2 separate regions of the Homo sapiens genome follow, and region 2 is linked to region 1. Evidence: promoter capture Hi-C in 16 types of primary human blood cells and fetal thymus (Javierre and others, 2016). All regions are on one chromosome and are shown on one strand. The core of a region is centred on a gene start or on the middle of the fragment in contact, and the rest is flanking DNA. Distances in the headings are between cores, read along the strand shown. Region 1 holds the start of ADGRE1 (adhesion G protein-coupled receptor E1). Region 2 overlaps ACSBG2 (acyl-CoA synthetase bubblegum family member 2).

What was found. Contacts are between HindIII fragments. The CHiCAGO score rates a contact against its expected background, and 5 or more counts as called.
Region 2: a fragment that was not itself captured here is called in contact with the fragment with the promoter of ADGRE1 in region 1 in 1 of 17 cell types (naive B cells); the score reaches 5.8 in naive B cells.

Annotation. Positions count from the first base shown.
Region 1 is chr19:6,885,082-6,889,813 of GRCh38, forward strand. It overlaps ADGRE1 (adhesion G protein-coupled receptor E1), which reads left to right and starts at 2,498. Exons shown (of 21, transcript NM_001974.5): 1 at 2,498-2,558. The coding sequence starts at 2,528. RefSeq lists an enhancer at 2,492-2,551. The HindIII fragment of the contact is 2,856 bases long and covers 259-3,114 here.
Region 2 is chr19:6,145,629-6,150,360 of GRCh38, forward strand. It overlaps ACSBG2 (acyl-CoA synthetase bubblegum family member 2), which reads left to right. Exons shown (of 15, transcript NM_030924.5): 3 at 1,818-2,047. LOC105372255 (a long non-coding RNA gene) reads right to left here. Exons shown (of 4, transcript NR_187772.1): 3 at 2,603-2,701. Among named protein-coding and RNA genes, the nearest start is that of ACSBG2, 12 kb to the left of the region's middle. The HindIII fragment of the contact is 930 bases long and covers 1,662-2,591 here.

The sequences.
Region 1 (4,732 bases), core at 1,248-3,747:
TCCTGCCTCAGCCTCCCGAGTAGCTGGGATTACAGGCGCATGCCACCATGCCCGGCTAATTTTTGTATTTTTAGTGGAGACGGGGTTTCACCATGTTGGTCAGGCTGGTCTCAAACTCCTGACCTTGTGATCCACCCGCCTCGGCCTCCCAAAGCGCTGGAATTACAGGCGTGAGCCACCGCGCCCGGCCAAATAATTTCTTTTCTAAAAAAGAGCAGTCTGAAAAATCAGCCGGCAGACATAGAAAAGCAAGCTGGAAGCTTGCTCGGGTGAATGCCGGCAGCTGTGCCAATGGGAATAGGCTACCTGGGTGCCAGGCGTGTTCAACATGCAGGCTTGCTCCATGTTCCCTTTTCTTTATCAACCACGTGTACGGTAAAGGAACAGGCAACATGGTCCTGGCCAGGTAGAGACCCCATCTGCATAATAAAATATTAGGGTGGGCAGCCAGCTTCTTTGTACTCTATGTAAACGGCACACCTGGTCCAACTAATCTTTGGGCCCTTATGTAAATCAGATATCACCACCTAAAGCTCATCTATAAAACCCCGTGCATTTCACCATGAAACTGGAAGACCCACTTGGGAGCCCCCTCTCTTTGCAGGAGAGAGAGCTTTTCTCTTTCTCTCGCCTATTAAATTTCTTTTCTTTCTTTCTTTTTTTTTTTTTTTTTGAGATGGAGTCTTGCTCTGTCACCCAGGCTGGAGTTCAATGGCACAATCTCGGCTCACTGCAACCTCTGCTTCCCGGGTTCAAGCGATTCTCTTGCCTCAGCCTCCTGAGTAGCTGGAATTACAGGCATGAGCCACCACACCTGGCTAATTTTTGTATTTTTAGTAGAGATGGGGTTTCACTATGTTGCCCAGGCTGGTCTCAAACTCCTGATCTTAGGTGATCCACCCGTCTCAGCCTCCCAAAGTGCTGGGATTACAGGCATGAGCCACTGTGCTCGGCCTAAACCTCTGCTCTAAAAGTAATTTTTTGTGTGTCTGCATTTTATTTTATTTTATTTTATTTTATTTTATTTTATTTTATTTTATTTTATTTTAAGACAGAGTCCCACTCTGTTGCCTAGGCTGGAGTGCAGTGGCACGATCTCGGCTCACTGCAGCCTCCGCCTCCTGGGTTCAAGCAATTCTCTGCCTCAGCCTCCGGAGTAGCTGGGATTACAGGTGCCTAACACCATACCACACTGGCTGATTTTTTGTATTTTTAGTAAAGACGGGGTTTCCCCATCTTGGCCAGGCTGGTCTTGAACTCCTGACCTCGTAATCCACCCTCCTCAGTCTCCCAAAGTGCTGAGATTACAGGTGTGAGCCACGGTGCCCGGCCATGTCTGTATTTTCTATTTCCTTGGTGTGAGGCAATGAACCTCGGGTATTACCCCAGATGGATGACACTGCTTCAATATCTGCCAGTCACTACACTTTGTTATCAGTGGGATTACATCAACTGGAGCCCATTCTATCTGCTTGGAGGCCAGGCCTGAAGATTCAAGGGGTTGACACCCTCTAGGAGCAAGCCTCAAGTCAACCCATGACTGACAGTAGGTGGGATATAAATACCTCAGCTCCCTCACCCCTCGGTTGGAATAACTGAAGAGTATGTTCCATGCCGCTCCCCAGTCATCCCTGGGGAGGTTAAGTTCCACTTTCTCACCATGTAACTTATTTGAAGACACACCCAGTATTGGCTCTTTGCCTTTCCTGATTCACTTTCTCCTCCCCCAGCTGGTGCTTTCTGGGGCCACCTTCTTGATAAACTACTTTTGCTAGAATCCTTGTCTGAGGGTCTGCCCTTGTGAGACCCTAAGATGTTACCAGAGAGAGTTAGGAAGCTGGGAATGGGGTGGAAGTGTTGCTGTATAATCGTCAGACAGAGTTGAGATCTGAAGGAAAATAAGATGGTTAAAGCTCTTGACTCTGGAATCAGAGGGTCCTGGGTTCAAATCTCAAGTCTGAGAGATCTTGGACAAGTTATAACTCCTCTGCAAGTCTCAGTTTCCATTTTGTTGGTGAATAGAGGGAGGGAGGGGAATTCCTACTTTACAAGGTTAACATGATAATGAAATTACACTTTGTTGCCAATGTGCCTAGCACACTGCCTGGTACATGATGGTTGTGATGGCTGTCTTTATACGGGAGACTGGGAAGAGACCCTAAAGGCTGAGATTTGCTTCACTGGAGGCAGGAAGCGGAAGCTCCTTTATTGGGTGCAATGAAAGAAGGTGTTGAGAGATGGGAGATAGATGTTGATGGGAAAGAAAAAGGGAGAGACCATGGGAAGGAGAGAGAGAGAGAATGATATACATTAGGCAGATTAACTTCTCTTTATTGTGAAGAAAGGGGGAAATTAGGATTTTCTAGGCTGTCTTTTAGTTGCAGCAAGTCAGCAAAAAGGGCTATGATGACCAGGCAGCATTGAGCAACTCTGACTCCGCCTTCCCCTCTTCGCACACCTTCTGGTTACTGAAAACCCAGCGTTAGTAGAAAAGTTTCTTTTCTTTGAATGACAGAACTACAGCATAATGCGTGGCTTCAACCTGCTCCTCTTCTGGGGTGAGTGTGAGGCTGAATGGGGGGCTAGGGGAGGCCTGGATTGGAAATAGACTTCAGGAGAAATGGGAGGGCCATGGATGGTCCAGCCAAGAGATCATAAGTCCAGACTGGATGCTGCAAACACCTTCATTCAGGGAACCTTTGACAAAATTCCATAGCTCAGGGAAGTCCATCTGTTAGGATAGATTTTTCTCTATAGTCATTCATTTGACCTGAGCAAGTCCTGTGTGTCAGGTGCTGTTCTAGGCACTAGAGGATATAGCAGTGAGAAAAAAAGACTAAGTTCCTGCACTCTTGAGGCTGATATTCTAGTGGGTAGGAGCAGACAGGAAAGAAGGCACAGATGATCATAGCCCACTTAGCACTGCTGTAACTTCTTTAAACATAGAGTGTATCCAATTGTCACAACATTTCTATGACATTGGGTCATTATTAGTCCTATTTTGCAAATGAGAAAACTGAGGCAAAAGAGATAAAATAATTTTCCCAAGGCCACTTAGTCAATAAGGGGTAGAGGCAGGATTTCAAGCCAGACAGTCTGACTTCAGAGTCTGTAAGCTTTTCCACTATACTATGTTGCCCCAAAAAATAAGTAAACATAGGAATTTCAGGTAGTGATAAGTGCTATGAAAGAAGTTGTTATAGAATGTGGTCGGGAGTTATGTTGAAGGGAGAAGTCTGGGGTTGAGGAGGGGCAGTTCGAGCTGAGTCCTGAAGGATGAGATAGACCCTTCCTGTGCTCTTATTTCTCTTTCTTCAGGTGTCAGTTTGTCTCAGCCTTGTTTATCTTCTGTGTTTCTGGTTTTTCTTCTATGTCTTGTGTGTTTTGGTCATTGGATCAAATTTAAGAATGGAGGATATTGGGGACATATTCTAAGTAGCAAGTATGGGTTTCCTCTGCTGTTGAAGAGTGGATCTGAATACCCTATTTTACCAAGGAGGAAACTGAGGCACAAAGAGATTAAATAACTTCCTCAAGGCCACGCAATCATTAATTGGTGAAGCCAGATTTTTAAACCTAAGCACTTTGACTTCAGACTTTGTATGCCTAAACAGCATGCTGAATTACCTCTAAAATAATTAATGAATGAGTAGAAGAATTTTTGTTAGTAATAATAGATAGAATTTGGGAGTTTAGATCTGTGGGACTTGTTGACTGGCAGGCTACATTAGAAGAAATAGGTGGCCTGTGGACATCAAATGTAGGCATGCAGAGTTGTTATTTTGGGGTGTTGGCAATGGTATTAACCATTAACACTCCCTATTCTGCCCTGAAGATAATCAGCAAAGAGTTGTGATAATGATAGTGATGATAATGATCATGATGGTGGTGGTTATAATAGTGATGATGAAAATGGTGATGATGATGGTGATGGTGATGATGATGATGATGATAATGGTGATGATAGTGATAATGAAGATGATGGTGATGATGATGGTGTGATAATGACCATGAAGATGGTGATGATGGTGATGATGATAATGGTGATGATAGGGATAATGATGATGATGGTGGTGATGATGGTGTGATAATGACGATGAAGATGGTGATGTTGGTGATTATGGTGGTGATGATGATGATGGTGGTGATGGTGATAATGGTGATGGTGATGATGATAATGGTGATGATGGTGATAATAATGATGATGATGATGGTGATGATGAAGATGATGATGGTGATGATGATAGTGATAATGATGGCGATAATGATGATGGTGCAGGAGACCTAAATGCTGCAGGGCTGCATTGCCTTTAAACACTAAAAAATGGGCAGGGCGCAGTGGCTCACGCTTGTAATCCCAGCACTTTAGGAGGCTGAGGCAGGCAGATCATGAGGTCAGGAGATCGAGACCATCCTGGCCAACATGGAGAAACCCCGTTTCTACTAAAAATGCAAAAATTAGCTGGGCGTGGTGGTGCGTGCTTGTAATCCCAGCTACTCGGGAGGCTGAGGCAGGAGAATAGCTTGAACCAGGGAGTTGGTGGTTGCAGTGAGCCTAGATCACGCTACTGCACTCCAGCCTGGTGACAGAGTGAGACTCCATCTCAAAAAAAAAAAAAAAAAAAAAAAGGAAAGAAAAACGAATTGCCCTACCCTCTCATGAAATGTTAATACTACAGATATACTGTATACCTATATATGTATTTTCTATATATACATATGTATCTTATAC
Region 2 (4,732 bases), core at 877-3,376, 740 kb before region 1:
AAACACACAACAAACCAACAACTGTCTCCAGAGGAAACCCTGTTCTCTTCTTTCTCAGTGTCAACCCTTACTCATCCCCAAAAGAAGTGATAGATACAGGACCCCAAAACTGGTTTTGAATTGGTCCCTTTGCTAGTTCCATTTGGCTGATCTGGGTGATGTCGCTGTGACAGGCAACCCCCTCAACAACCCCCTCAACAACCTCAATGGCTTAACACAACACAAGTGTGTTTCTTACTCATGTTGTGTGTCTGGCATTGGGGGAGAGGGGCTACTTCTTCACATTTGCTCCACCATTTTTGTGACAGGACAATGGACGATGGGGAATTATGCACCGGGTCTTAAATCTTCTCCCCATGAACGACACACATAACTCACTTCTTATGTTTCATTGGCCAAAGCATACATAGTCCACTGCATGTACATTTTACCTTTAAAAAAATCTCCGTAAATAATATTAAATATGTGACTCTTGTTAATGATTTACATGCAAGGGTGTTTAAGGGTAAATGGATGAATAGCTTTGGCTCACTTGGAAATGCATCAAAAAATCAGATGGAGCCAGGCGCGGTGGCTCATGCCTGTAATCCCGGCACTTTGGGAGGCCGAGGCAGGTGGATCACTTGACGTCAGGAGTTCGAGACCAGCCTGGGCTACATGGTGAAACCCCATCTCTACTAAAAATACAAAAATTAGCCAGATGTGGTGGCGGGTGCCTGTAATCCCAGCTACTCGGCAGGTTGAGGCAGAAGAATCGCTTGAACCTGGGAGGTGTAGGTCGGGGTGAGCCAAGATCACGCCACTGCACTCCAGCCTGGGCAAAAGAGTGAGACTCCGTCTCAAAAAATAATAATAGGCCAGGCGCGGTGGCTCATGCCTGTAATCCCAGCACTTTGGGAGGCCAAGGCGGGCGGATCACCTGAAGTCGGGAGTTCGAGACCAGCCTGACCAACATGGAGAAACTCCATCTCTACTAAAAATATAAAATTAGCGAGGCGTGGTGGTGCATGCCTGTAATCCCAGCTACTCGGGAGGCTGAGGCAGGAAAAACGCTTGAACCCGGGAGGCGGAGGTTGCAGTGAGCCAAGATCGTGCCATTGTACTCCAACCTGGGCAAGAAAAGCAAAGCTCCGTCTCAAAAACAAAAACAAAACAAAACAAAATAATAATAAAAAAAATAAGATGGGGCCAGGTGCGGTGGCTCATGCCTGTAATCCCAGCACTTTGAGAAACTAAGGGAGGAGGATTGTTTGAGCCCAGGAGTTTGAGATCAGCCTCGGAAACACAGTAGAACCCCATCTCTACAAAACATTAAAAAATAAATTAGCTAGGCATGGTGGTGTTTGCCTGTAGTTCCAGTTATTTGGGAGGCTGAGGTGGGAGGATGGCTTGAGCCTAGGAGGTCAAGGTTGCAGTGAGCTGTGATTGTGCCAGTGCACTCCAGCCTGCTGACAGAGCAAGACCGTGTCTCCAGAAAAAAAGAAAGAAAGAAAAAAAAAATGGACATAACAAAGACAGCAGGATAGATGTGTGATAAAATATGGTAAAACGCTAGCAGTTGTAGAATCTAGGTGTTGGATAAGAAAGTATTTGGTATACAATCCTTTTGACTATTAAAATTTGGCGGGGCGGGGAATGAAAAAATAAATAAAGAGAAAGGAAGCTTGTCTTGCCAGTGTTGACCACATAACTTCACCCTAGAAGGGGATTAATTCAACTCTCAGCACCTTAGGTCCAAAAAGACACCAACCGCCCCCCGTCCAAAGTTATTAAATAAATAAAAACATTTGCCACCCAACTCTGGTGACTATTTGCAGTTACTCCCAGGCTGTGGACCACCTGTCGAGATGGAGAAGTCCTTCTGAGGCTATCCAAACACGGACCAGGCCATGAGACCCCGATGACCATCCCTGAATTTTTTCGAGAGTCAGTCAACCGATTTGGAACTTATCCAGCCCTCGCATCCAAGAATGGCAAAAAGTGGGAAATTCTGAATTTCAACCAGTACTATGAGGCTTGTCGGAAGGCTGCAAAATCCTTGATCAAGGTAAGATTCATTCATTCATTCTCCTTTGTTCAACCATTCATTCTGAATAGGTAACAGACATACATACATGTGGTACAAAATTCACAAGGCACCAAAAGATACAAAGGTTAATTGGCGAAAATTTCCCTCTGATTCATGAGCCTCAGCCACTCAGTTCCTCTCTGTGGAAGCGGTCACCATTGTCAGTTTTTTGTGTGTCCTTTTGGGAAATAAATTATGCATAAATATAAAATGAAATTTTTATATATGCAAATTTTTTACACACATAATAGCCTACTACACCCATGGTTCTGCATCTTGCATTTGTCCCTAACATACTATCTCTATGTTTTTGTTAGTTGCTGCTGCATAACAAATTATCCCAAAATATAGTGACTTGAAATGACAAACATTTATCATCTCACAGTTTCTGTGGATTGAGAATTTAGGAGCTACTTTGAAATTGGGTTCTTCTGGCTCCAGGTCTCTCATGAGGTTGCAGCCAAGCTATCAGCTGGGGCTATCTCATCTGAAGGCTCAACTGGGGCTGGAGGCTTCACTTCCAAGCTTACTTACCTAGATGACTGGTTGTTGGCAGGAAGTCTCAGCTCCTCATTCCATGGCCTTCTCCACAGAATTGCTTGAGTGTCTTCACGGCATGGTTGCCAGTCACCCCTAGAATGAATGAAGCAAAAGAAAGAGGGAACAAGGCTGGGGTCAGTGGCTCATGTCTGTAATCCTAGTGCTTTGGGACATCGAGGCAGGAGGATCACTGAGCCCAGGAGTTCAAGACCAGCCTGGGTAACATAGTGAGACCCCAGTCTCAATGAAAAATTTAAAAAGTAGCCAGATGCAGTGGCACATGCCTGTAGTCCCAGCTATCAGGAGGCTGAGGTGGGAGGATCACTTGAGCCTCGGAGGTCGAGGCTGCAATGACCTGTGATTGCACCATTGCACTCTAGCTGGGCAACAGAGTGAGATGGTGTCATAAAGAAAAAAAAAAAAAAAGAGAACCATGTGCTTGGGCTGGGTTTCTTCTTGGGGGCCCCACCTTCATACTATGTTGCTGTGGCTAGTTCATCTCTCCTGAAAGATGGTCTCCTTTAGCCATGTTCTTAGTTCCGTGGAGTTAAAGGTCCCCCTCCTCCCGTAAATCTTGGACACCTGACTGAGCACGGTGGCTCATGCCTGTAATCCCAGCACTTTGGGAGGCCAAGGTGGGCGGATCAAGGTCAAGAGGTCAAGAGTTTGAGACCAGCCTGGCCCACATGGTGAAACCCCATCTACACTAAAAATACAAAAATTAGCCAGGTGTGGTGGTGCACACCTGTAATCCCAGCTACTCAGGAAGCTGAGGCAGGAGAATCGCTTGAACCCGGGAGGCAGAGGTTGCAGTGAGCCGAGATTGTGCCACTGCACTCCAGCCTGGGTGAAACTCCATCTCAAAAAACAAACAAACAAACAAAACTTGGAGACCGAAGTAGAAACAAAACCAAAAATAAAAACAAACAAAACTACTTGGAGACCCAAGTAGAAATTAGTCGGTGTAACTAGGCATTAATAAAAACACACTCTGTCCACAATAAAGCCAGCCTTTTGGTTACTGAAATACTTGGCATCTCATTCTGAAGGACCAGCAGGCAAATGCCTTCCAAATGGTTCCTTTTCCCCCAAGAACAGCAGATCATTGCCAGCCGTGATCCCGTATGACTAAAAGAGCCAACAACGTTGGTTGGCAGTACCCAGAACAAAGAGGGAGTTTTCCCCTAAGGATGCTCACTTTTGTTTCTGAGTTTCCTGGTTCATTCTCACCCACATTCAGAACAAGTCTGTACCTTTACATGTGCAACTTTTTTTTTTTTTTTTTTTTTTAGACAGAGTCTCACTCTGTTGCCCAGGCTGGAGTGCAGTGGCACGATCTTGGCTCACTGCAGCCTCAGCCTCCAGGTTCAAGCAATTCTCCTGCCTCAGCTTCCCAAGTAGCTGGGACTACAGGCAGGTGCTGCCACGCCCGGCTAATTTTTTGTATATTTAGTAGAGACGGGGTTTCATCTTGTGGGCCAGGCTGGTCTCGAACTTCTGACCTGAAGAGATCCACGTGCCTTGGCCTCCCAAAGTGCTGGGATTACAGGTGTGAGCCACCACACCTGGCCTCAAGAGATCCACCCACCTCGGCCTCCCAAAGTGCTGGGATTACAGGCGTGAGCCACCACACCTGGCCTCAAGAGATCCACCTACCTCGGCCTCCCAAAGTGCTGGGATTACAGGCGTGAGCCACCACGCCTGTAATTTTTTTTAAATTAGACTCAGTGGAGCAGGCCCATAGTCCCAGCTACTCGGGAGGGTGAGGCGGGAGGATTGCTGGAGCCTGGGAAGTTGAAGCTGCAGTGAGCTATGATCACCCACTGCACTCCAGCCTGGGTGACAGAGCGAGACAAAAAATAATAATAATAAAATAAAATAAAATAAAATAAATTCACACCTTTCAAGATAGCTATTCTTTAAAAAATAGCAAAACACAACACGTGTTGGGGAGGATATGGAGAAGCTGGAACCCTTGTGCAGTGCTGGTGGAAATGTAAAATGGTGCCGCCACTGTGGAAAAGTCTGGCGATTTCTAAAAAAAGAAAAAATGTAAACAGAGAATTGCCATATGATTCAGCAGTCTCACTCCTGGATATTTAACAAAAAAAAAAAAAAAAAAGG